Linked DNA regions of Homo sapiens: regions 1, 2, 4, 5 and 6 are each linked to region 3. Evidence: promoter capture Hi-C in 16 types of primary human blood cells and fetal thymus (Javierre and others, 2016). All regions are on one chromosome and are shown on one strand. The core of a region is centred on a gene start or on the middle of the fragment in contact, and the rest is flanking DNA. Distances in the headings are between cores, read along the strand shown. Region 1 has its middle 49 kb from the start of NTAQ1. Region 2 overlaps NTAQ1 (N-terminal glutamine amidase 1). Region 3 holds the start of FAM91A1 (family with sequence similarity 91 member A1). Region 4 overlaps ATAD2 (ATPase family AAA domain containing 2). Region 5 overlaps LOC101927588 (a long non-coding RNA gene). Region 6 holds the start of ZHX1-C8orf76 (ZHX1-C8orf76 readthrough).

Evidence for each region. Contacts are between HindIII fragments. The CHiCAGO score rates a contact against its expected background, and 5 or more counts as called.
Region 1: a contact is called between a fragment that was not itself captured here and the fragment with the promoter of FAM91A1 in region 3, in 4 of 17 cell types (M0 macrophages, M2 macrophages, endothelial precursors and 1 more). The highest score is 8.0, in M0 macrophages.
Region 2: a fragment that was not itself captured here is called in contact with the fragment with the promoter of FAM91A1 in region 3 in 1 of 17 cell types (M1 macrophages); the score reaches 5.4 in M1 macrophages.
Region 4: a fragment that was not itself captured here is called in contact with the fragment with the promoter of FAM91A1 in region 3 in 2 of 17 cell types (fetal thymus and erythroblasts); the score reaches 7.5 in fetal thymus.
Region 5: a contact is called between a fragment that was not itself captured here and the fragment with the promoter of FAM91A1 in region 3, in 1 of 17 cell types (neutrophils). The highest score is 5.8, in neutrophils.
Region 6: a contact is called between a fragment that was not itself captured here and the fragment with the promoter of FAM91A1 in region 3, in 10 of 17 cell types (fetal thymus, total CD8 T cells, non-activated CD4 T cells and 7 more). The highest score is 8.3, in fetal thymus.

What each region holds. Positions count from the first base shown.
Region 1 is chr8:123,464,591-123,467,944 of GRCh38, reverse strand. It overlaps a transcript of NTAQ1 not described here. Among named protein-coding and RNA genes, the nearest start is that of NTAQ1, 49 kb to the right of the region's middle. The HindIII fragment of the contact is 2,119 bases long and covers 406-2,524 here.
Region 2 is chr8:123,434,807-123,438,572 of GRCh38, reverse strand. NTAQ1 (N-terminal glutamine amidase 1) reads right to left here. Exons shown (of 6, transcript NM_018024.3): 4 at 1,972-2,120; 5 at 1,239-1,363. Among named protein-coding and RNA genes, the nearest start is that of NTAQ1, 20 kb to the right of the region's middle. The HindIII fragment of the contact is 1,430 bases long and covers 1,801-3,230 here.
Region 3 is chr8:123,766,021-123,769,702 of GRCh38, reverse strand. FAM91A1 (family with sequence similarity 91 member A1) reads right to left here and starts at 1,264. Exons shown (of 24, transcript NM_144963.4): 1 at 929-1,264. The coding sequence starts at 1,000. It overlaps LOC105375739 (a long non-coding RNA gene), which reads right to left. Exons shown (of 3, transcript XR_928607.4): 3 at 3,457-3,558. RefSeq lists a silencer at 929-1,078. The HindIII fragment of the contact is 7,175 bases long and covers 386-3,682 here.
Region 4 is chr8:123,384,790-123,388,540 of GRCh38, reverse strand. The region is part of intron 1 of ATAD2 (ATPase family AAA domain containing 2); the gene reads left to right. Among named protein-coding and RNA genes, the nearest start is that of ATAD2, 9.8 kb to the left of the region's middle. The HindIII fragment of the contact is 1,196 bases long and covers 714-1,909 here.
Region 5 is chr8:124,199,228-124,202,643 of GRCh38, reverse strand. All of the region lies in intron 2 of LOC101927588 (a long non-coding RNA gene), which reads left to right. Among named protein-coding and RNA genes, the nearest start is that of FER1L6-AS2, 29 kb to the right of the region's middle. The HindIII fragment of the contact is 2,132 bases long and covers 793-2,924 here.
Region 6 is chr8:123,270,568-123,274,343 of GRCh38, reverse strand. It overlaps ZHX1-C8orf76 (ZHX1-C8orf76 readthrough), which reads left to right and starts at 58. Exons shown (of 6, transcript NM_001204180.2): 1 at 58-127. It overlaps ZHX1 (zinc fingers and homeoboxes 1), which reads left to right and starts at 58. Exons shown (of 4, transcript NM_007222.5): 1 at 58-127. RefSeq lists silencers at 198-397, 434-801. The HindIII fragment of the contact is 802 bases long and covers 1,672-2,473 here.

The DNA.
Region 1 (3,354 bases), core at 216-2,715, 300 kb after region 3:
AAACCCTGTCTCTACTAAAAATACAAAATTAGCGGGGAGTGGTGGCTGGCGCCTGTGACCCTAGCTACTTGGGAGGCTGAGGCAGGAGAATCGCTTGAACCCGGGAGGCAGAGGTTGCAGTGAGCCGAGACCGTGCCATTGCACTTCAGCCTGGGCAACAAGAGCAAAACTCCATCTCTAAATAAACAAATAAAATAAAAATAGATACCTTGAACCTGTCTCTCATATTCACTGCTCCTCTGGCCCTTGCCTCTCCCTTTCTTCCTTGCTCACAATTCTACAGGATTTGGTCTGGTTCTAACTGCTCCAAGGAACCCTCTGGAACCTGGATATGAATGGCCAGTAATTAATTTATGAAATCAGACCCTCAGCTACATTCTATACTCAAGATACTAAAGCCAAGCTTAAAGACATTGATAAAACACTTAATGCAAGAATTATTTTATGAAAACACTTTAAAAATTATTTCAAACATCAAAATGGTACTTAAATCCCATTACATTAACAATCTCATAACACTATCTCATGCCATTGAATATGTGATAAAACCTTCATACAATATCTGGTGGGAATGTAAGTTGGCACAAACATTTAGAAAAGCAATTTGGCGGCCGGGCGCAGTGGCTCATTCCTGTAATCCCAGCAGTTTAGGAGGCCAAGGCAGGTCGATCACTTGAGGCCAGGAGTTCAACACTAGCTTCACCAACATGGCGGAACCCCATCTCACTAAAAATACAAAAATTAGCCGGGCATGGTGGTGCATGCCTGTAGTTCCAGCTGAGGGAGGCTGAGGATCACTTGAACCCAGGAGGCGGAGCTTGCAGTGAGCCGGGATCACGCAACTGCACTCCAGCCTGGACAACAGACTGAGAAAAAAAAAAAAGGAAAAAGAAAGAAAGAAAAGCAATTTGGAATATGTTTCAAGAACCACAAACATTTCCTGGTCCTTTGACCTATTAATACCATGCTCAGGAATTTGCTCTAAGGAAAATTATACTATTAAAAAAAGAACTTATATATAGAAGATGTTTATTTCCAAGTTATTTATGTAACTGATAGGGTAACATAATCAAAATGCCACTTTATTGTTTTTCTTCCATCATCCCTTTACTGTAAAATGGTATCGCCCATGGAAAACAGAATGGAGGTTCCTCAAAAAATTAAAACTAGAATTACCAGCAATTATATGACCAGCAATCCCATTCCTTGGTATATATCCAAAAGAACTGAAAACAAGATCTCAAAGAGATATTTGCACATCCATGTATACAGTTTGCCAGGGGGGAAAAGGGAGGAGGGGCAGCAGGAGAAAAGAATCTTGTCCTCACTCCAGATGAAAACAATTGCAGGCTCCTGCCTGCTGTGTCACTTTCAAGTAATGACAGTCTGATGGTCACATCAAGTCACAAACATGGTCTTACTAGAGTAATTCAGTGAGTCAGTTCATTCTATTCATCAACAATTCCATTTTCACTCAAAAGATTTCTTCCCCTTCTTTGCGAGAGCTGGCAGTTCCCAGGGAGGTGAGGGGAAAGTAGTCATTTTCTTCTGTCTTGCACCATGCGCCATAATCCTCCTCCACTCACTAGCTACTGGCTTGGATCCCATGCCCAAATGGACAGACGGCAAAGAGGTAAGTGGTTATGTCTGGAGCTACTTTAATTGGCTTCTGAGTGGCACAGTTGTAAGCTGACTTCCTGCTCACTGGGCTTTGCAGCTATATAAAGCTGCCTCTCACTTGGGGCACTTTTCTTGGGATCTTTGGTGATTCCCATCTCTGGGAACCTCTCCAGTTGTAATTCTCAGAACAAGGGAGAAGCATTCCATTCCAGCTGCTATTGCCCTCAGCCCCTGGTTCTCTGGCAATCCCGTCCACTCAGACTTCACTCTTTGGCTTCCTCTCACCCTCCCAGAGGGTCCTCTTGGACAGGATTTAAAATGACTTTCATGCAGAATGACAAACTGTGAATGGGTATACAACAGAATACAACTCTAAGTTATAGAGAAAGAATGAACTACTGACACAGGCAACAATATGGATGGAACTCAAAGATGTCATGCTGGCTGGGTGCAGTGGCTCACACCTGTAATCCCAACACTTTGGGAGGCCGAGGTGGGTGGATCGCTTGAGCCCTGGAGTTCCGAGACCAGCCTGGGCAACATGGTGAAACCCCATCTCTACTGAAAACACAAAAATTAGCCTGGCATGGTGGCGGGCGCCTGTAATCCCAGCTACTCAGGAAGCTGAGGCACAAGAATTGCTTGAACCCAGGAGGCAAAGTTTGCAGTGAGCCAAGATCGTGCCACTGCACTCCAGCCTGAGTGACAGAGCAAGACTCTGTCTCAAAAAAAAAAAAAAAAAAAAAAAAAGATGTTATGCTGAGTGAAAAAAGCAATCTCAAAAGGGTACGTACTATACAATTCCATTTACAGAACACTCTTAAAATGACAAAATTCTGGTGATAGAGAACAGATGAGTGGTCGCCAGGGGTTAGGGTTGGCAGGAGGGCCTGACTACAAAGCTTTAGTATGAGGGAGTTTCTCTGCAGTGACGGAAGCTGGTGACGGTGTCCTTGTTTTGGTAGTGATTACACATATCTATATGTGTGACAAGATTTCACAGTACTGTTTATACACATGCACACACAAGAGCATGTCAAAATTCATGAAAATCAAGGTCTATAGTTTAGTTCACAGTATTGTGTCAATGTCAATGTCAATTTCCTAGTTTTGAAAATGTACGGTGGTTCTACATTATCAATGGGGAAAGCCAGATGAAGGGTACATGGAACTCCCTTTTATTTTTGCAATTTCTTCTGAGTCTTAAATTCGTTCAAAATAAAAGGGTTTTAAAAATGGCTCTGGCTCAGTATCGTCTCTCCCCTGGGGCCCACACTTTTTTTTCCTGAGACAGAATCTGTCTCTGTTGCCCAGGCAGGAGTGCAGTGGTGTGATCTGGGCTCACTGCAACCTCCATCTCCCAGGTTCAAGTGATTCTCGTGCCTCAGCCTTCCAAGTAGCTAGGATTACAGGCGCATGATACCACACCCAGCTAATTTTTATATTTTTAGTAGAGACAGGGTTTCACTATGTTGGCCAGGCTGGTCTCGAACTCCTGACCTCAAGTGATCCGCCTCCCAAAGTGCTGAGATTACAGGCGTGAGCCACAGTGCCCAGCCAAGGGCCCACATTTAAGTCCCAGGAAACACTCTCTCATCTCTTGCCCCAACAAACCCTGGGAACACAGGACCAAACCCAGCCCTCTGTGTCCTGCTGCCACAGGCCACTCTAGCCAGTTACATATTTCTCAACCATAGGAAATATGTAAGTTAAATATGTGGTCCTATCAGAGCC
Region 2 (3,766 bases), core at 1,266-3,765, 330 kb after region 3:
GTAATTCTCCTGTCTCAGTCTCCCAAGGAGCTGGGACTTCAGGCACACACCACCACACCCGGCTAATTTTTGTATTTTTAGTAGAGACGGAGTTTCACCACATTGGTCAGGCTAGTCTCGAACTCCTGACCTCAGGTGGTCCACCCACCTCAGCCTCCCAAAGTGCTGGGATTACAGGCATAAGCCACCACGCTCAGACCCTTGTTGAAGTACTAACACTACTGCCCTATTTTTCTGACATGCTGCAGAGCTCACAGAGCACTTTCACACAGACTGTATTATCCAGGTGTTGGGATGATCTCACCCCTAAGTGGGAATGTTGTGAATTACTTACAAACGTAAATAATACTTCAAACTCATATGAATGCCAAACAATAGTAATAGGGTGAAGGACCCTTTATCTTCTTAAATGTCAGGAAATTATCAACTGGATTGATGCCTAAAAGCACATAAATGAGACAAGTGGTACAATAAAACCTGCTAGCGCTCACCTCCCTCTAATGCAGATTTTATTATATAGCCAAAGTGACATTTCACACATCATAAGGATGCAATGGGGATTTCTTTCACCACAGCACAAAACCCTACCATGGCAAGGTGCTACTAGTCCCGCTGTTAAATGACACAAGCATGCGAGTATCCTGATGTTCAGTGTCCCCGCAGTAGCTACATCCAATAATCCAGCAGTTTGCAGGTGCCCTGGTTCTGATCCTTAACACCCTTCCTCTCCCACATGTTCTTATGCCTTCCAGTCCTATTCTCTGTGCCTTCATTTCTGAATCTAATACACACACAGAAGTAGTATTTCCTATGACCTCCTTATCATTCATGGAATTTTTTGTTTTTTGTTTTTTGTTTTTTTTTTTTTTTGAGATGGAGTCTCACTCTGTCACCCAGGCTGGAATGCAGTGGCCCGATCTCAGCTCACTGCAAGCTCTGCCTCCCAGGTTCGCACCATTCTCCTGCCTCAGCCTCCCTAGTAGCTGGGACTACAGGTGCCTGTCACCACACCTGGCTAATTTTTTGTATTTTTAGTAGAGACAGGGTTTCACCGTGTTAGCCAGGATGGTGTCTATCTCCTGACCTCGTGATCCGCCCACCTCGGCCTCCCAAAGTGCTGGGATTCACTCATGGAGTTTTATTCAAAGAACAACCTGACTTTTGTCCTCCGTTAAGGAAAAATGCTGATGTGTATGTGATCAATCAGAACCCCCATCTGAGAAGGCATCTTGGCTCACCTCCAGTCTCAATGCAGGGATATGGCGGCGGAGGCTCTCTCCAATTCCCACTGGAGTCTTTCATGTGAGATCGGTCAGAAGCAAAGTTCTTCAAATATGAATCTGCACGGATCACTCTAAATTTCCTGCAGAAAAATCAATATACACTCACATTAGGGAGATGTCATGTTTGAAATTCTAACTCCATTTTTATATCGACTCATTTCCTATGACATGCACAAAACTACTCATGCATTTCTGTATGGTTAGTAATACAGGCAACTTTACTACCTATTAGAGAAGCATAGGAAATGATCAACCAAACCCCGAAACAGAAAGGCAAAGGCACAAAAATATATCTGGTTGCCTCGATTTACTCGATTTGTGTATCAAGGGCAATGGGCATGATTTTCTGATGCTGCCCTCACAGCCCTCTCAATGGTGACAGCACGAGGTATCCCCACAAAAACAAAAAGAATATAAGAAAAATCCCCAACCCGCTTGAAATTAAATGTCTGAGATCTCATCACACAAAATTTTAAAAGAATGACAACCTTTCATATGATAGATAACTTTTAAAGCTTTAAAACATTTTGAATCTCCTGTGTTGCAAATACATCATTCTTAAACATCAACTCAATGGTGATGTCAGACGAGATCTTTACAAAACAATTGTCAAAAAAAAAAAGAACCTCTGTGGAATCGTCAAATTCTTACTTCAGAAAATAAGTAAATCCATCTTGAATGTCCTCACCTCCTAAACTGTGGGTGAATGTCATCATCAGACTTAAAGGCATCTTCTACATAAGTGTCAAAGAGGCAGGGAAATGGCAAGACAGTATCGAGATCATAAATGAAGTTCTGTCCTCCACTTGAAACATGAAGCAAAACAACATGGTAATCCTAAAAGTAAAAGTTGCTGAAGTTAACCAAGTTACTTCATAATGATGAAATCCCAGTATTCAGACACATACCTTATCACTAAAAAGGATATAGGACTGCTACAGCCCTCCTTATAATAGCAAAATAGAATAAAGCAAACACAACACCCTGAAAACATGAAAACAGACTAAATGTCCACAGATAGGGAAATGGTTAAATAATGGAAATGTTCATAGTCATTAAATGCACATCCTCTGAAACTGCAATTTTACCTCTAGGAAACTTTTTTTTTTTTTTTTTTTTTGAGATGGAGTCTTACTCTCGTCACCCAGGTTGGAGTGCAGTGGCATGATCTCAGCTCACTGCAACCTCCACCTGCCGGGTTCAAGCAATTCTCTTGCCTCAGCCTCCCGAGTAGCTGGGATTACAAGCGCGCACCACGATGCCCAGCTAATTTTTTGTATTTTTAGTAGAGATAGGGTTTCATCATGCTGGCAAGGCTGGTCTTGAACCCCTGACCTCAGGCGATCCACCCGCCTCAGTCTCCAAAAGTGCTAGGATTACAGGTGTGAGCCACGGTGCCTGGCCCCACATATTTTTTTTAATTGAGACAGAGTCTTGCTCTATCACCCAGGCTGGCGTGCAGTGGCATAATCTCAGCTCACTGCAACCTCCGCCTCCTGGGTTCAAGCGATTCTCCTGCCTCAGCCTCCTGAGTAGCTGGGACTACAGACACCCGCCACCACGCCCAGCTAATTTTTGTATTTTTAGTAGAGATGGTGTTTCACCATGTTGGCCAGGCTGGTCTCCAACTTCTGGCCTCAAGTGATCCCCCCGCCTCAGCCTCCCAAAGTCCTGGAATTACAGGTGTGAGCCACAGTGCCGGCCCCACCTGCTATTTGTTAAAAGCTATCTGTATATAAAGACATACGTGCGCATTCAGAAGTACATTTGCATGCATGTGAATGCAGAGGAAAACGTCTGCAAGGATCTGCTCCAAACTAGTAACAAAGGAGGCTTCTGGGGGTCAGCCTGGAGAGGAGAAGGAGGACTTTAATTTCTAGTTTGGAACCACTTTTGCAATTAAAAGAAAGGAAAAACTATTTTTTAAAAAAAGAAGTTAGCCAAGCTTTCATCTGTAGCCACTAAGGGAGAAAGAAAAAGACAGCTTTTCCCACACAGCTCTGTCACAGTGTGGATGTTAATTCTCACCCTCACTCTCAGACTCAAGGTACTGCCCAACACCAGCGATGAGCTGAAAGGGATTTCAGGGAGGTGATCAAGGGACATGAGCAATGTGGTGCTCTGAGTTCTTCCAAAGAAAAACGCTCTCATAGAGAACAGCACTGTGAAATCAAAGCAACCTAGCAACATTAGTAATACCAACTTATATTTCTACAATATCTTAGAGTTTAAAAGGCACTTTCTTTCTCAAATATCATTCTACTTGAGCCCTGTATAAATCCTGAGGTAAGAACAATACTTAAGACTAGGGATGCTGTGCCTTTAAAAGCCTGAGTGCTGCCTTTGGCTCTAAGTCTGTCTTAGCAAAACAGAAAGATTCAAAAATGAATGCCTATTCTCTGGACTTCCCCAGATACATCCTATCCTCCACGCCCCCAAACAGTCCACCACTGCCTCCCAATGGGTCTGCTCATGTCATTCCC
Region 3 (3,682 bases), core at 15-2,514:
ATGTAAGCTCCATGAAGGCAGTCTTTGTCTTGTTGACTGTTGCAAATTACCTGCACCTAGAGCAACGCACAGCACCTAGTAGGTGGTCAATAAATATCTATTAAACAATTGAGTAAAACAGACTAAAAAAATCGAGAATTAACTTTCAAAAACCTCATGTCACTCTTGTTGAAACATCTCTGATAAACCCATCTTGTCTGGAGGATAAAGTCCAACAAAACAAAGCACACAAGCACCTTCAAAATCTGGCCCTGACCACTTTTCCAGGCTCATCTGCTACCAGCCCCGCGCACTCAAAAAACTTCAACTCCAAACATGTCAGTCCAAACTCTGGTGATACAGTCACTTGCTACTCATGAGACATGTTCTTTCACTCATCCAAGCTTTGTAAAATGACTTTCCCTCCCCCTGGAAAAATCTTTATTCCCTCTTATTTAACTCTTATTCGTCCTCCAAGGCCCAATTTAAGTGCCTGCCTTAAAAATCCTTCCAACTCTCCCAGGATAATTTCTCCCTCCCTCTGCTCTCACATATACTACAATGCAGGTGTGTATGAGCTGCTATCATCCTGTATCGTATTCATTTGTTTCCCATCCCTTTCCCACCATCCTGAAATTCCGGAGGTCAAGGACCGTGTTTAAAATCTCTATCGCAGGTGCCTGGCTGAATGTATCCTGCGGGCAAAGGCGCCAGTCGAGTCCTGTGGACACCATGCCATCCCATTTAGCGATCGCCCCGTCCTGGCCCTGTGGCCCCACAGCCGTCCCCTCCTCGCCCTGGGCTGAAGGTCCGTCTCCCCAAGACCACGGAGGAGTAAAGGAAGGGAGTCAGCCGGCAGCAGCCCGCTCGGGCCCCGCGAGCGAGGCAAGCAGGTGACCGCTGGGCGGGCCGAATCCGTCAGGGGCCCGGTCCCAGGTTCCGGCCGTACCTGTCTCACGTTGGCCGGCAACTTGTTCCAGGGGTAGTTGTGCCGGATGTGGAACTCCACGTCTATGTTCATGATGCCGCGGCCAGGGCCGGCGGCCGGGGCCGCCACCGCGACCCACACTACGCCTCCCGCCTGCCCGCCCGCAGCCTGTCAGCGGAGCGACGCGGGAGGCCCCGCGCCTCACACTGCAGAAGGCCCAGGCTGCCCCATGGCCTAGGCTCCCGACAGTTCAGCGCCGCCCGGGCCAACCGAGTACAAGAGCAGCAGCGATTGGAGGCTGGATCGCCTGAACAGCTCCAAGTTTCTTCCTAGTTTCGGGCCGCCGGAAATGGCTCTGGGCACACGTCACTTCCGCCCGCTGGCGCGCGGCCGGAGGGGCGGGGCACGGACTGGCCTCTAGCCACGCCCTCTACAGGCTGCGGGGCGGGGCGACGACGAGGTACCGGGAGGTGCCCGGGTGAGCGTTCCCCGCCCGCGCGCTTCGTCTCCCCGTTTCAGTCTCTGAATGAACGGCGATAGTCGCTTGGGTCTGCGTTGCCGTTGCTGATGACCCAGTTTACTCAAATTGTAAAGCCGGAGGCACTGGGGTCGGTTTTCAGAGAAAAGCGACCTGGGAAGCGGGCCGGCAGTGGCTGGCTTTACATTGGAGTGCGGTGCGCTCGCGGGGGTTCTCCACAGGCCAGCCCGGAACCCGGGCCAGTGAGACGGGGCGGGGGGTTGCGGGGACGGGTCCAGGGCCCTGGAGAAAGAAATAATCTCTAAGTCAGGTCTCGCACCGGGTTGAGCGAGAAGCATGGGCAGTGGGAGAGCAAAGGTCTGGTAAGCCCTCTTCCCTTCCGCGGTGTGCTGCACGTCATTGGGCTCCACTTCCCAAGAAGATCCAAATTCTTACAATGCAGGGATTCAGGGAGCTGAAATTTTAAACAGTGGTGCTGACAGGTCGAGGCAGCCTACAGGGCTGACAGAGAGATACCCTTGCCAACTTTGTCATGCAGCCTGTCGGTTTCTGCTTTATTCTGCTCCACACAAATGCCTCCAGAGTCACTTAAAAGCAAAAATCCAGCATGTCTTAATTTCAGATTGAGTGATAAGGTCTTTGGGAATAATTTCTTTCAGAAGTTGTTACGCTGCCTTAGCAAACCCGTGACCATTATTCCTGGCAGCAACCAGAGACAAGTTCAGTGTTATTGCAACTGTTTTTCAGTTTTTAACAATGGTTTTAAATAATGTTTTATTATATACTGGGAGATGTATACTTAGAACTTTTTATAAGATACCTAGCTCACACCTCAACAGCTGGCAAGTCTGATGCTTAGCAGAAACCCCATTATGTCTGATGAAATAAAGGTGACAAGTACACACTGCCCTTGCTTAGATGTTTTGGTCTCCTATTATCCAACTATAATAACCCAAAGATAAGTGCTTTGAACCTTATGTTTACAGATCCTCATCAGCATAGCTAAGGTTAACTGAACTCTAACCGTGAGACATTTATTCAACAAATATTGATTACCTGCCCGCCATGTATTAAGGCCTTGACTTGACAATAGATTATTCCTCACAACCCTGATATTCCTACAACAGTAACCACTTACTATCCCAGTTTGATAGAGGAGGAGACTGAGGCTTGGCAGGGCTTCATGACTTGCTCGCAAGATCACACAGGTAGCACTGACAGAGCCAAACTGGAGCCGAAGGCTATCCTCACTCCAGAGCCATCCTTTCAGTTCCCCAACTCAGGCTCTCACTCACTGAACTCTTCTACCTCCTGTTCCAATTTAGACAATGTTCATTCAAAGTCAACGACATAAACATCCTCTAAAATAATGCTTTACAGTTCTAAGTGTGGAAGAACCCATATTCTTCCAAAGTCTAACTTAGATCTAATGCAATATAAGTAACAATGAAAATTAAAGTCAATTTAGCTTAAAAAAATCCCTGTAAACTATTATTTTAGCTAATGATAGCAGTTCAGCAGGTGAATGCCTGATAAACTCACTATATTGAGTTTAGTGGACACATCAAAAACTATAAAAGTGAACGTGGGATAAGTAGAGGTGAACCTACACCCATTAAATTAATAAGGCAAACAGACCTTTGAAAATGCGACCCTGTGACTAGAAAAGATTCTCACTCGGCAAGTAGCTGAGAAAAGCAGACACATGAAGGAGGAAATGGGAATGAGATAGAGCTATGTGGATGGGAAGAATTCAAATAACAAGCCCTTACGAGCAGGAACCAGTGATGGACTCTGGCTTAATACACAATCTTATTAAAGTACTGATCTGCCTCATTTCCCACCAAGGACCAGTCTTTGAGAGGATAGGAGTTCAAAGACGGTAAATTAACCCACAGGGCTCTATGACCCCCTCTGCTGGGAAGTTCAGGAACAGTACTGCTTCCCCAAGCATCAGAAAGCTGGAAACAGTCGCTCACTAGACTGACTCCACATGTGACACTCATTACAGCACCTCACCTTTTCGTTTAGCAATAATGTCCTTCCTTTACGTCCCTGACTGAGGCTCCTGCTAATTTTTACTTTACTAGACCTTTGGCTTTTCAAATTCCACAGAGGTCAGAAACTGCAGAGTGTTTAAGTCCCATCCCAGAAGCTGCCATTCGAATTAACACTGTGGGTTAAAAAAAAAAAAAAAAAAAGTGTTCAAAAGCACAAACAAGTGCAATGAAATTCAGTCTTATCTGGCTTTACAAGATCAGATTGAGGAAAACTGCCCAACTAGCTTAGGCAATTGG
Region 4 (3,751 bases), core at 62-2,561, 380 kb after region 3:
CCTGCCTCTAGTCCCAGCTACTCAGGAGGCTGAGAGAGAGAATCGCTTGAACCCAGGAGGCAGAGGTTGCAGTGAGCTGAGATCGTGCTGCTACACTCACTGCACCCCAGCCTGGGCGACAGAGCAAGACTCCGTCTCAAAATAATAAAATAAAATAAGATAAAATACATAATCAGTAGCCAGGCGTGGTGGCACATGCCTGTAGCCCCAGCTACTACCGGGGAGGCTGAGGCAGGAGGATCTCTTGAGCTCAGGAAGTTGAGGCTGCAGTGAGCCATGATTGTGCCACTGTACTCCAGCCTGGGTGAAGGAGCAAGATCCTATCTCTAAAAATAAATAAAGAAGGTAGTGATCAGTTCTGTAGAATTCAGTGAGGTAGAGAAAAGGCTATTGGATGTAGCTATTGGGAGACAGTTGTGAATGTACTGAAAGAGCTGTGGAGGTAGAAACTAAGTTGGAGTTTACCGAGTAGATGGTGAAGTGGTTTAAACTCATGTTTAAAGACAAAACTAAGGAAGGATATCACAACTATAGTGATATAACATGTATATCATGTATTAGAATATACTGTTGTTTAAGTTTTCAGGGAGCCCTAAATTTGTGTTGAGTACATCCTATTTCAACCTCATTTGTTGATATTTGAATTGACTCAAACAACTGACCTCCCCCCCAAACATGCTTTTTAAAAAATGAATTTAAAGCTTGAATAAGCTTGGTCTTCTGTGAAAAATAACATAGAATATTTTTATTATGCAACTGTGTATACTTTAGGAAAACTTTTTTGTTATTTTATTGCTGCTTTTTCTCTATGTTAACTTACTGATTCTGCAAGGTTGTGAGAAACTTAAAATTTAACAAAATACTAACATTTCCTCTCTTAAAACTTCACTTTTAAAGAACTATAAGTGCTCTCAATATTTAAGTAGATTTTAGCCAAAGAATAAATGAGAATATTACATCTCTAGGTTAAAATTTCAGACTAAGTTTGTTTTCTCTTTGTTTTTTAGTTTTTAGGAATTTTTTTCTGGTAATACATGTGAAAATGTGAAAAATAGAAAGTGAAAGTCCCCATCTCTGTCATCCAATGTTAATTACTGTTAACAGTGTTGAACTTACCTCTTGGGAATTAGATGACTTCGGTTTAATACCTGTGCTAGTCTTCCTTAGGAAAGAAGATATACACAAGATAATTCATCTAGAGATATTTATAACATCAGAAAAAATTGCAGGCAACCTAAATATAATACATTCAGCAATTTGTTAAATAGATTCATGTAATGGCTGAAATACTATTCATTCATTAAATTTTTAGAGTAATATTTAATGACATGAAAAAATATTGATATTACTAGAAAAAACTTATAAAACATATAGTATTATCTCAGTTTTAAAATCATGTAAATATGTTTGCATAGGAAAAAAATGGTTTTTGCACCAAGAGATTAAAAGAGGTTGTCTGTGAGTGGCTGAAATTAAGGGTGACATTTTCATTTTTCCAGTAATAATGGGCATGTATTGCCTTTATTTTTATATTGCTTTTGTTAGAACTGTTTTTGAAAGATGCATTTAAAAATTTTTTAGTGTATACTCTATATAGAGGACTCCCACATAATTTTTTTTTTTTTTTGCCCACATTGTTGAGTCTTTCTTGCTGCCTAGTACTTATTTGGAGAGAATGACAAGCCGTTCACTATGCACATCAAAGATTCTCTTATACCACTTATAAGATTGTCTTCCAAGTTTCTTAGGAAATGTTTTTTCCTAGTATTGTCCCCATCCACCCCTTTTCTTGTTTTGTAAGGAAACAAAATCTTTTTTTATCCTCAGGAATATGGTAGCATTTATTTTCTTTTTTAATGTACCAAAATATACATAACATAAAATTGACCGTTTTAACCGTTTTTAAGCTTACAGTTCATTAAGTACATTCACATTGTTCTGCAACCATCATCACCATTCATCTCCAGAACTTTTTCATCTTCCAGAATTGAAACTCTGTACCCATTAAACACTTACTCCCAGTTCCTCTCTCCTCCTAGTCCCTGGCAACCACTGTTCTACTTTCTGTCTCTGAATGTGACTGTTCTCTGAATCTCATATTCCTAGACTAATCATATTTGTCTTTTATGACTTGCTTATTTCACTTAGCATATCTTCAGAGTTCATCCATATTGTAGCATGTGTTAAAATTTCCTTTTTTAAACAAGAAGGAATAATATTCCATTGTATGTACCATGTTTTGTTTGTCCGTTCATCTGTCAGTGGACACTTGGGTTGCTTCCCCTTTTGGGAATTGAATAATGCTGCTGTGAACATGAGTACAAATATTTGTGCAAGTCCCTGCATTCGCTTCTTTGAGTGTATACCCAAAAGTGGAATTGCTGGATCATATAGAAATTTTGTGTTTAACTTTTTGAGGAATTGCCTTACTATTTTATGTTACCACCAGCAACACACAAGGATTCCAGTTTCTCTACATCCTCACCAACAATTGCTATTTTCTCCTTTTTTTTTTTTTTTGTGAGTAGCCATCCTAATGTGTGTGAAGTGTTATCTCTGTGGTTTTGATTTGCGTTTCTCTAATGACTAGTGATGTTGAGCATCTTTTCATGTGTTTATTGGCTATTTGTCTATCTTTGGAGAAATCTCTATTCACATCTTTTGCTTATTTTTTAATTGGTTTGCTTGTTTTGCAAAGGAGTTCTTTAAATATTCTGGAGATATATATATGTATGCGTGTATATATGTGTGTGTGTGTATGTATATATAAAACCTTATATACCTTATCAGTATATGATTTGCAGATTTTTTTCGTATTCTGTAGGTTGCCTTTTCACTCTGTTGATAGTGTTCTTTATGCATAAAAGGTACTCATTTTGATGAGGTCTAACTTACATATTTTTATTTTGTTGTCTGTGCTTTTGGTGTCATCCAAGAAATCATTGCCAAATCCAATGCTGTTTTCTCCTAAGAGTTCCTAAATTGTTTTTTAGTTCTTTATTCTCTCATACAGTTTTAAGTTATCATCTCAACTTCCCCCTCATTTATTTCTTTCAAAGGATGTAATTTCTGTCATCTTTTGATGTTGACATTAAAAAGAATAAAACTATTATGTCAGACTTTACCTGTATCCACTGCAGTCTAAAAACCAGTTGATATGTTTTGAAACATTTAAAAATAATAACATGAGCAAACTCTTAGCAAAGTTTACCTTGATTCTTTTTTTTCTCTCTTTTAATTTGCATTTTCAGTCCACTTAACCCACTGCATTTTATGGTGATGTGAAATTTTTTTCTATACAAGCCATTTATTTGAAATGTCTACTATATGTAAGACAGTCAGTGTTAGCATGCTCATCAATAACAGTAGAAAAATAGAACCAGTGGAAACCTGTATAGCTGTAATGGTACTCAAAAGAGAATTGTATCCTTTTAAAATGTTTTACACAGGTGAATTCAAGTTTGGAGGTACCTAAATAAAAATATTACATATTTCTTTAAAAACGTTTATATACAATTAAAATATAAACAAGTTGTACAAAGTACTGGTTATGCAGGTTGTAGACAACACTTGAATGGGACATGAAATCAGTTTAAGAAAAATGTCTGAGCCTTAGTGGGCTTCTGAGCGCCAAGAAATAAAATGTTTGTGGGTAGAGTTGTTAGAATTAATGCTCTGTCAATCAAAACAAGAACATATTATCTACTTGGATTTGAAATGATAAAACTTAGAAAGTAAGATTTTAAAAAAT
Region 5 (3,416 bases), core at 609-3,108, 430 kb before region 3:
AGATTCAGTGTGCCCGGCCATTATAACCATTACAACCATTCGCTGCTGTTCATTAGCAAGCAGCTAGAACAACACGTGGCAGGTCGTGGGCACGCAGTAAATGTTAGCTCTTACTAATGGATGGCAGAAGCTGGCTCTGTTTGCTCAACACACACCTCTGAGGGTTATAGCCAGAGCCACAGACACATAGGAGCAGCCACCCTTGGTTGGCGAAGAGACAGTTCTGACCTTTAGCCACTGGTGTGGACACTCCATCCAGGCAGTGTCAGGATTCCCAGACTCCCTGCAGAGAGACCGTGCTGTGCGAGGGAATCAGGAAACTGAGAATCCGGTCTTTGTTCTGTTGCCTCTGGTCACTCACAGGGCTGTGGCTTTCCTTGGGAGAAGGAGGGAGGTGTCCAAAGATGTTACAACAATGATGGGAGGCTGGAGGTGGGAGCATGCCTTGGCGTCCCACCGTCTCTGTTAATGGGAACATTCCCCTGGTTGTTGTCACATGACTTGTGACAGCACTAGTTGGGGCAAAGCTCCTGGACTGTGCACAAGCGGGAGCGAGTTTCTGCAATAAAAAGAGAATCAACATGACACAGGGGTGCCCTTGCTAGGCCAGGCAGCATAGCATGGAGGAATGGAAGCTGATGCCGGGTGGGTGGCTGAGCTTCTCCTCTTGCCATCACCCTCCCAGCCGTGTCATTCTAGGTCTGCCCCTCAGCCTCTCTGAAGCTTATGTCTGTAACCACAAAGTAGGGATGAAAATCCCTTACCTGTCTCTTCACACACTTGTATTAAGCTTGACTATGGTAAAGTAGTAATGACCACTTAGTCACTGCTTATTACGTGTGGAACGCTGTGTGCTTTATAGACATAGCTTTATAGACATAGCTATAGACATAGCAGATTGCATCTCCATAACATCCCCGGGAGGCAGCTATCATTATTCCTGTTTTGTGAAGCTGGATGCTGACTCTCAGAGCCCATTTAGCCCATGCATGTACAATCTGCCCAAAACTTGGGCTCTGAATCACTCCATTGTGGGTGTCCAAAGAGGCAAGGAGAGAGCACTACCATCTGTTAAGCACCTACTATGTGTGAGAAAGTCCACATTCCTGGTCTTAGTCTGGCCCCACATCACCCACGATGAGGCCCTTTGAAGAGTGGAGGGGGTGGGGAGGGACGATGGTTGTTGGATTAAGGCAGTGCTGTGGTCAAGATGGCCCACTTAGACGTGAGGTCGGGTCCCAACTCATGCGTGCAAAGAACACACTCCAACAAGACGTCTAGCTTCACTGAGCCTCAGTTTCTTCTTCTATCAAATGGGGTGGATAAAGCTACGTCCCTCAAAATTTGCTGAGAGATGAAACAGGTAAAGTATGTCCCACTGTGCCTGGCTCATGGCAGCTTCTACATAAATGGTGGCTATTAATAGCTCTAATTACGAGTTTCTAGTGGCTGAGCATTGAGGAGATAAGAAGGGGCTTAGTTTTCCTTGCTCTTCAGTCCCTCCCATTCCTTTCCCAAATACGAGATTTATATCTCCTTTTGCACCCACTAATATGCCCCAGCCACAATGGCCTGTTATCACGTCCTAGGGATGACACAGTCCTGAGGCCAGATCCTTTTGTCACCTGCTGCTGGGGACTAGGATCAGCTCGCTGATGCAGATTGTCCTGGGAGGTTTCCATAACAAAGTTGGGCCGGGGAGCAGGAATTCCCTCTACTCCTGAGGGGTGGCTGGTTCAGCTGGAGACGTCCTTGTTCTCAAACTTCAGCAGGCTTCAGAATCGCCTGGAAGGCTGGTTAGGCCACCGATGGCTGGGCCCCACCCCAGTATTTCTGATTCAAGAGGTCTGGGGTGGGGCATTTCTAACAAGCTCCAGAGCTTCTGCTCTTCTCACTAAGCTATGTTGACTCTTAAAAGAATGGAAATATATTTAATTAACATTACTGAAGTGGTGTCGTGGCAAAAATCTGTCACTCCTGCTGGTCCAGGGACCACACTTTGAGAACCACTGAGCTAGAGAAACGGGAAGGGCAGAACTGGATGGATGTGGCCCCTTCCTGTGAATTTCTCTTTCTTGGAGAGAGTGTTTGTTTGTTTTTTCTCTGAGTCATCTAATGAATCTTCATGATTTCTGTTACTAAATGTCACTGTTGAGTAGCCTGATTTGAAATGGGGTATGAGGCAGTCCTGGAAACACAGCCCCATCTGAAGTCGGGGTGGGGTTAGGGGTCCCAGGCCTCAGTTAGGGAGTGGGCTCCTTGTCCACACAGGCTTCAGGGCTGATGCTGTCTTCTTGCCTCAGCTGGCATGCGTTGGCCTCCCAGGGCCCGGCAGGGCTTTCTTCACAGCTGGGCTGACTCATCTACCAGGGCAAGCCAGGGCCACAGGCACTTGCTGACAATCTGGGGTAATTTGACACTAGACTCAAACAGACACCTTGAAGAATGGACTGCCTTTTTTTGGCAGGATGCAGTGACCTGTGACTGCTACGTGAAGGCCTGGGCACTGCTGAGGTCTGGACAGAGGTAGCCTGATGATCTGGCCAGGTGCTCAGCTCTCTGCAGTTGGCTCACTTCCTGCTGTCCTCTGTGCTTGGCATTTGACAGCAACTTGTCAACTCAGCATCAGATTTCAATGCTGTCCTGATTTTCCATTCTTCTGTTACCTCCTGTCTTGGGCTCACCACAGACTCAGCAACTTGACTTAACTTGGTGTTTCTGGATGTCTTCTGTAGAAATAGCTCTGACTCACTGGCCCTCCATCACCCCCTCATCCTGTAAGCCAATCAGCATGGGAAGACAGTGGGGTTTTTCCATGTACCTCTTTGGCTGCCTTATTGTTGATATCAAGCCACTTCAGCAATAGAGATTCATTTCATAAGAGAACTATGTGATGTTCCAGTAATGTCAGAGCAAGGAAAGCTTTCCATTCATGTGGATCAGAGTTAAGGAAGAAGACGAAATGGAATCGTGGCCTCCTGTCATTTGTGGCAGGCCCCTACACCCCTGCCCCTGAAGTTCTGAGCACAGCCCATGATCTGTCAGGAGAACAGCAGGGATCTGCTTCTGGCAGGATTCTGCTCTGTGGAATCACAGATAAGCGGTTCCTATTTTTCTTCCAACACTGCAGAGAAATGACAAAATCCAGGGCCAGAATTTTCATGAATTAAATAGAGTTGGAATGGATCTGAGAGCTCGTTGGGCCAAGGGGTGGCAAATGCATTTTATTTGTGCCAATAGCAATTGTTTGGGAGGGGCTGGATAAAGCTCTACATTAGAAGCCTACTTTGAGCTCAGGCAGAAATGGTACCCTGGTCTTACAGTCACATCTGTCTTGGGCATAGGATGAGAAAGTGGTCACATATTGCCATCACTGACCCAGCTCTGTTCTCTCCATTTATGGAACAGGAAGCTAG
Region 6 (3,776 bases), core at 823-3,322, 500 kb after region 3:
TTGCGGGCCCGCCGAGCGGTTCCGGGTTTAGGGTTCACAGGTCAGAGTTGACTCCCTGAAAAGTGCAGCCGGTTTGAAATGCAAGATGGCGGCGGCGTGGCGCTGAGAGGCGCGGCGGCCCCTGCAGGTAGTGGCGCGAGCCGGCTCCGCGACCAGCGGGCCCGGAGACTCTGGGCTGCGGGTGGGAACTGGAGCGCAGAGTCCGCGGCCGGCACGGGAAAGGCGAGTAGCGCGGGGCCTGGCGGGAGGAGGGCAGCCTCACAGCAGAGACCCCTGGGGCTGAGCCCGCTCGCGGCGGCGGGTGGCGGGGTGGACCCGGCGTGGGGCGTCCGAGGGGGAGGGACGGGGCCTGCCTCGCGGCTGGGTAGTCGCCGCAGAGGGACAGACAGACCCACAGCCTCCCTCGCTCTTTTTGGGTGTCTCCGCCACCGAAAGAGCTTGGGGGCGGGGGGCTCTCTGGAGGGAACATCTCAGCCCCCTGCCTTGGTGAGGACCCAGCAACTTAGGATTGTTGAGAGGAGTGAAGACTGCGTATTCCCAGCGGAGGGCGCCGCCGGAGGGAGCACCCCAGTAATGTTGGGAGTCCTAGAGGAGGTCAGGAGCGCTGTCCTCCGGGGGCGTGTGGCTGCCTCGTGGGGGACCCAGTCTCCCTGAGAGTAAGGAGAGATTCTCTTGCTGGAGCTGAGCGCACTGACTGAGGTTGGAGCCCCAGCAAACCCTTCAGGAGAAGTCTTTACCTCCAGTTCAAGGAAGGCTATGCGCACCCGTTTCGGGGCCAGGCCATGTCCCAACTTTGGGAAAGACTGGGAGTTGAGTCCTTAAGAACCATATTACGATTGTGACGAAGCCCTGGGATTTAGGGAGAAGTTAATTAAAGAGGATGGTAGGGGCGTGGGGGTGTGGGGGCTGACCCATGGGAATCCTCCAAGCCTTAGGGCCCACAGTGAACAATCTACTAATACCTCAAGGGGTATAAAAGGCTGGGAAGGAGAGGTGTGAGAGGAACAAGGTCTAAGGGCAGGAAAGAAGAGCCCTGGCAGATCCCCTTTCCTTATATATTTACACCAAAGTTGGAGGTAAAGGGACTTGGCAATTCTTTGTTTTAGTACCTTTCCTGTCCTCTCTCCTCCGTGGGTAACTGTAAGGAAAGAGCATAGCCCCTGAGAAGGAAAAGATTCCATTTGATATCCTTAGCTTAGGTTAGTGAAGGATCCAGCAGCTGGGAAGGCGTCAATGAGAGACAGCAGGCGGGGGAATTAGAACAGAGACTAGGGATGAGAAAAGAGGAATACAGGGAAGATATCGGACAGAGCAGGAATTCCACAGCCCTTTTCTGTCAACTCAGCCCAGCTATTAGAAAAAAAAAAAAATGCGAAGAGCTAATATTTGAGAGAAAAATGTAAAGGCTGAGAGAGAAGTCGTGATGTGATTAGGTTGGGATTCCATGTAACTTAAGCAGTTCTCTTGGAGGTTAATGTGATAGCAGAAAAAGGAAAATCACAAAATTGGAAAATATACAGCGGTTCACGGTTAGGGAGGAAGAAGCAGTCTCCCCCCAGGAACAGTGAATATTTGGTTTGGGGTGTGTGTGTGTGTTGTGTGTATACATATATAAGAGCACTTTAGATTTGCTGGTGTTGGTCATTGTTTCTCAGTCTTTGTCTGAAAGCTTTAATTTGTGTTATATGGTGCTACATTAATTATCTTCGTTTCTGAAAAATTATTCTGAAAAAGTCATTTGTTTTTATGTCGGGAGCGAAGGTGAGCAGGAGTTGGTTTTAACAGGGAAATTGGCCCTAGTATACCCATCGATTATTTTAATTTCTAAAGTAGCAATTCTGACTCCTGATTTTAAGCAAAAGAAATGTGAGTGCTGCCAATGACAATAATGCGGTAACAGGACATAAAAGAAAAAGGGCTTTCATGAATATTTTTTTCCTTTTAGCTTTTCTCTCCTTTCCCAAAGCATGTTAAGGCTAAGCAGACTAATTTTATACAAAGTAAAATGTATAATCGTGGACCTTTTCGATATAAAATGATAGCATTTCAGTTATCAATGAATCTTTTTTGTTGAAGTACCTCTTCAGACGCCTTATTTGACAATCAGGATTAAAATGAGAAAGGGTAATACTTGGGTAACTGATGATAGTGATGATTCATAGAGATTTCTTGAACCATTCTTGTATTTTCGAAAGAGCTTTAACGTCTTCAATGGAAATGTTTTAAAGATACAGTTCAAATAGAAACTAGTTTAGAACTTTACATTTGGAACATTTTATGCACGTGTGCTGTTCTTTGGTTTCCTCAATGTTCATGTAGCTCTGGTTTTATATTCAATTCTGAACAGATTAGGCTGGGTGAACCAGAGAGGCATTAATGCCAGATGGTTTGAAAATATGCTAAATCCGAAAACATAAATGTGCCTGTGCTAGTGAACACTCATTAGTGGATTTCTTTCCTTTATAGCTAAGCTTATTATTTCACCGGATTTGGGGGGTAGTTCATGCATGATGTAGCAATTATTTCACCTTTAATGATAATTGTAAGTTCTTTTTTTTTCAATAATTGGGGACAAAGTTTTACAGTTATTAGCGAAATTAATAGCATAGGAGAGGTGGTTCATTTTGAAGATTTTTCTCCCTTTTGTATTATTATATTTTATATTAAGATGGAAAGGTTATATTATGATGTATTATATTTCTTATGCTAATTAAGCATAAAATGTGATATTTGAGACTTAGTTTGCTGTAAATTATAACTTAATACTTAAATGAAAATGCTTTTAAAATTATTAAAATGATCACAAATGTAGCTGAGGAAATAACCCTTTTATTTGTGTTGCAGCATTGTGGATTTGGGCCCAAAGACTTTACTTAAATAAACAGTGTTGAAAGTTCAGCACCTAGTTTTTAATCTAATATCATAGTCAGTGCAATTATTCAGAGAGATTTTTGGAATTATCTATTGTACTGTTTATGGTGCTAGCCAGTAATACACATTTTTTAAATCATTATAAATATTTATTTATGTTGTGATAAGCACATTTACTGTTAAGACTAAATTTTTTGAACTTAAAATCCTTTTAAATAATCCTACGTAGTTTCAAAAGTAAGTTATAGTTCTGTTTTTAAAACTGATACTATCTTTAGAATAAGAGCCAATGTTTCTATACTATTATTGATAAATTTTATTGTATCCTTGTTGCTCTGATATATTTGTAGTCATCAATAACCAGATTTGCATGACTAAAGTTGCTGACTTAGATTATTAATCAGAATATACATTTGAGTTTACATTTTGGAGATCTGCATTTTATACAGGATATTCTTAAAGTAAATATTAATATGTAACTTTGTATGTAGTTGCCAGGTTTTGATCTTAAAAGATACTTAATCTTGGCATTTTATACAATCAGTTTCCAACTTAAGAGGTAAGACTGTATACCTTTGGTCTAAACAAATGTGATGATATACTTTGTAAAATAAGTATATATGAGCAGTTTAAGAATTATGTTTATTCAAGGGAGCCAGTTGAATACATTTTTTTTTTTTTTTTTTTGAGACGGGGTCTCATTCTGTGGCCCAGGCTGGAGTGCAGTGGCATGATCATGGCTCACTGCACCCTCAAACTCCTGTGCTCAAGCGATCCTTTCTCCTCAGCCTCTTGAGTAGCTAGGACTACAGTCATGTGTCACCCACGCCCGGCTAATTTTTAATTTTTTTTTTTGTAGAGATAGGGTCTTACTGTGTTGCCCTAGCTGGTCTCAAACTCCTGGC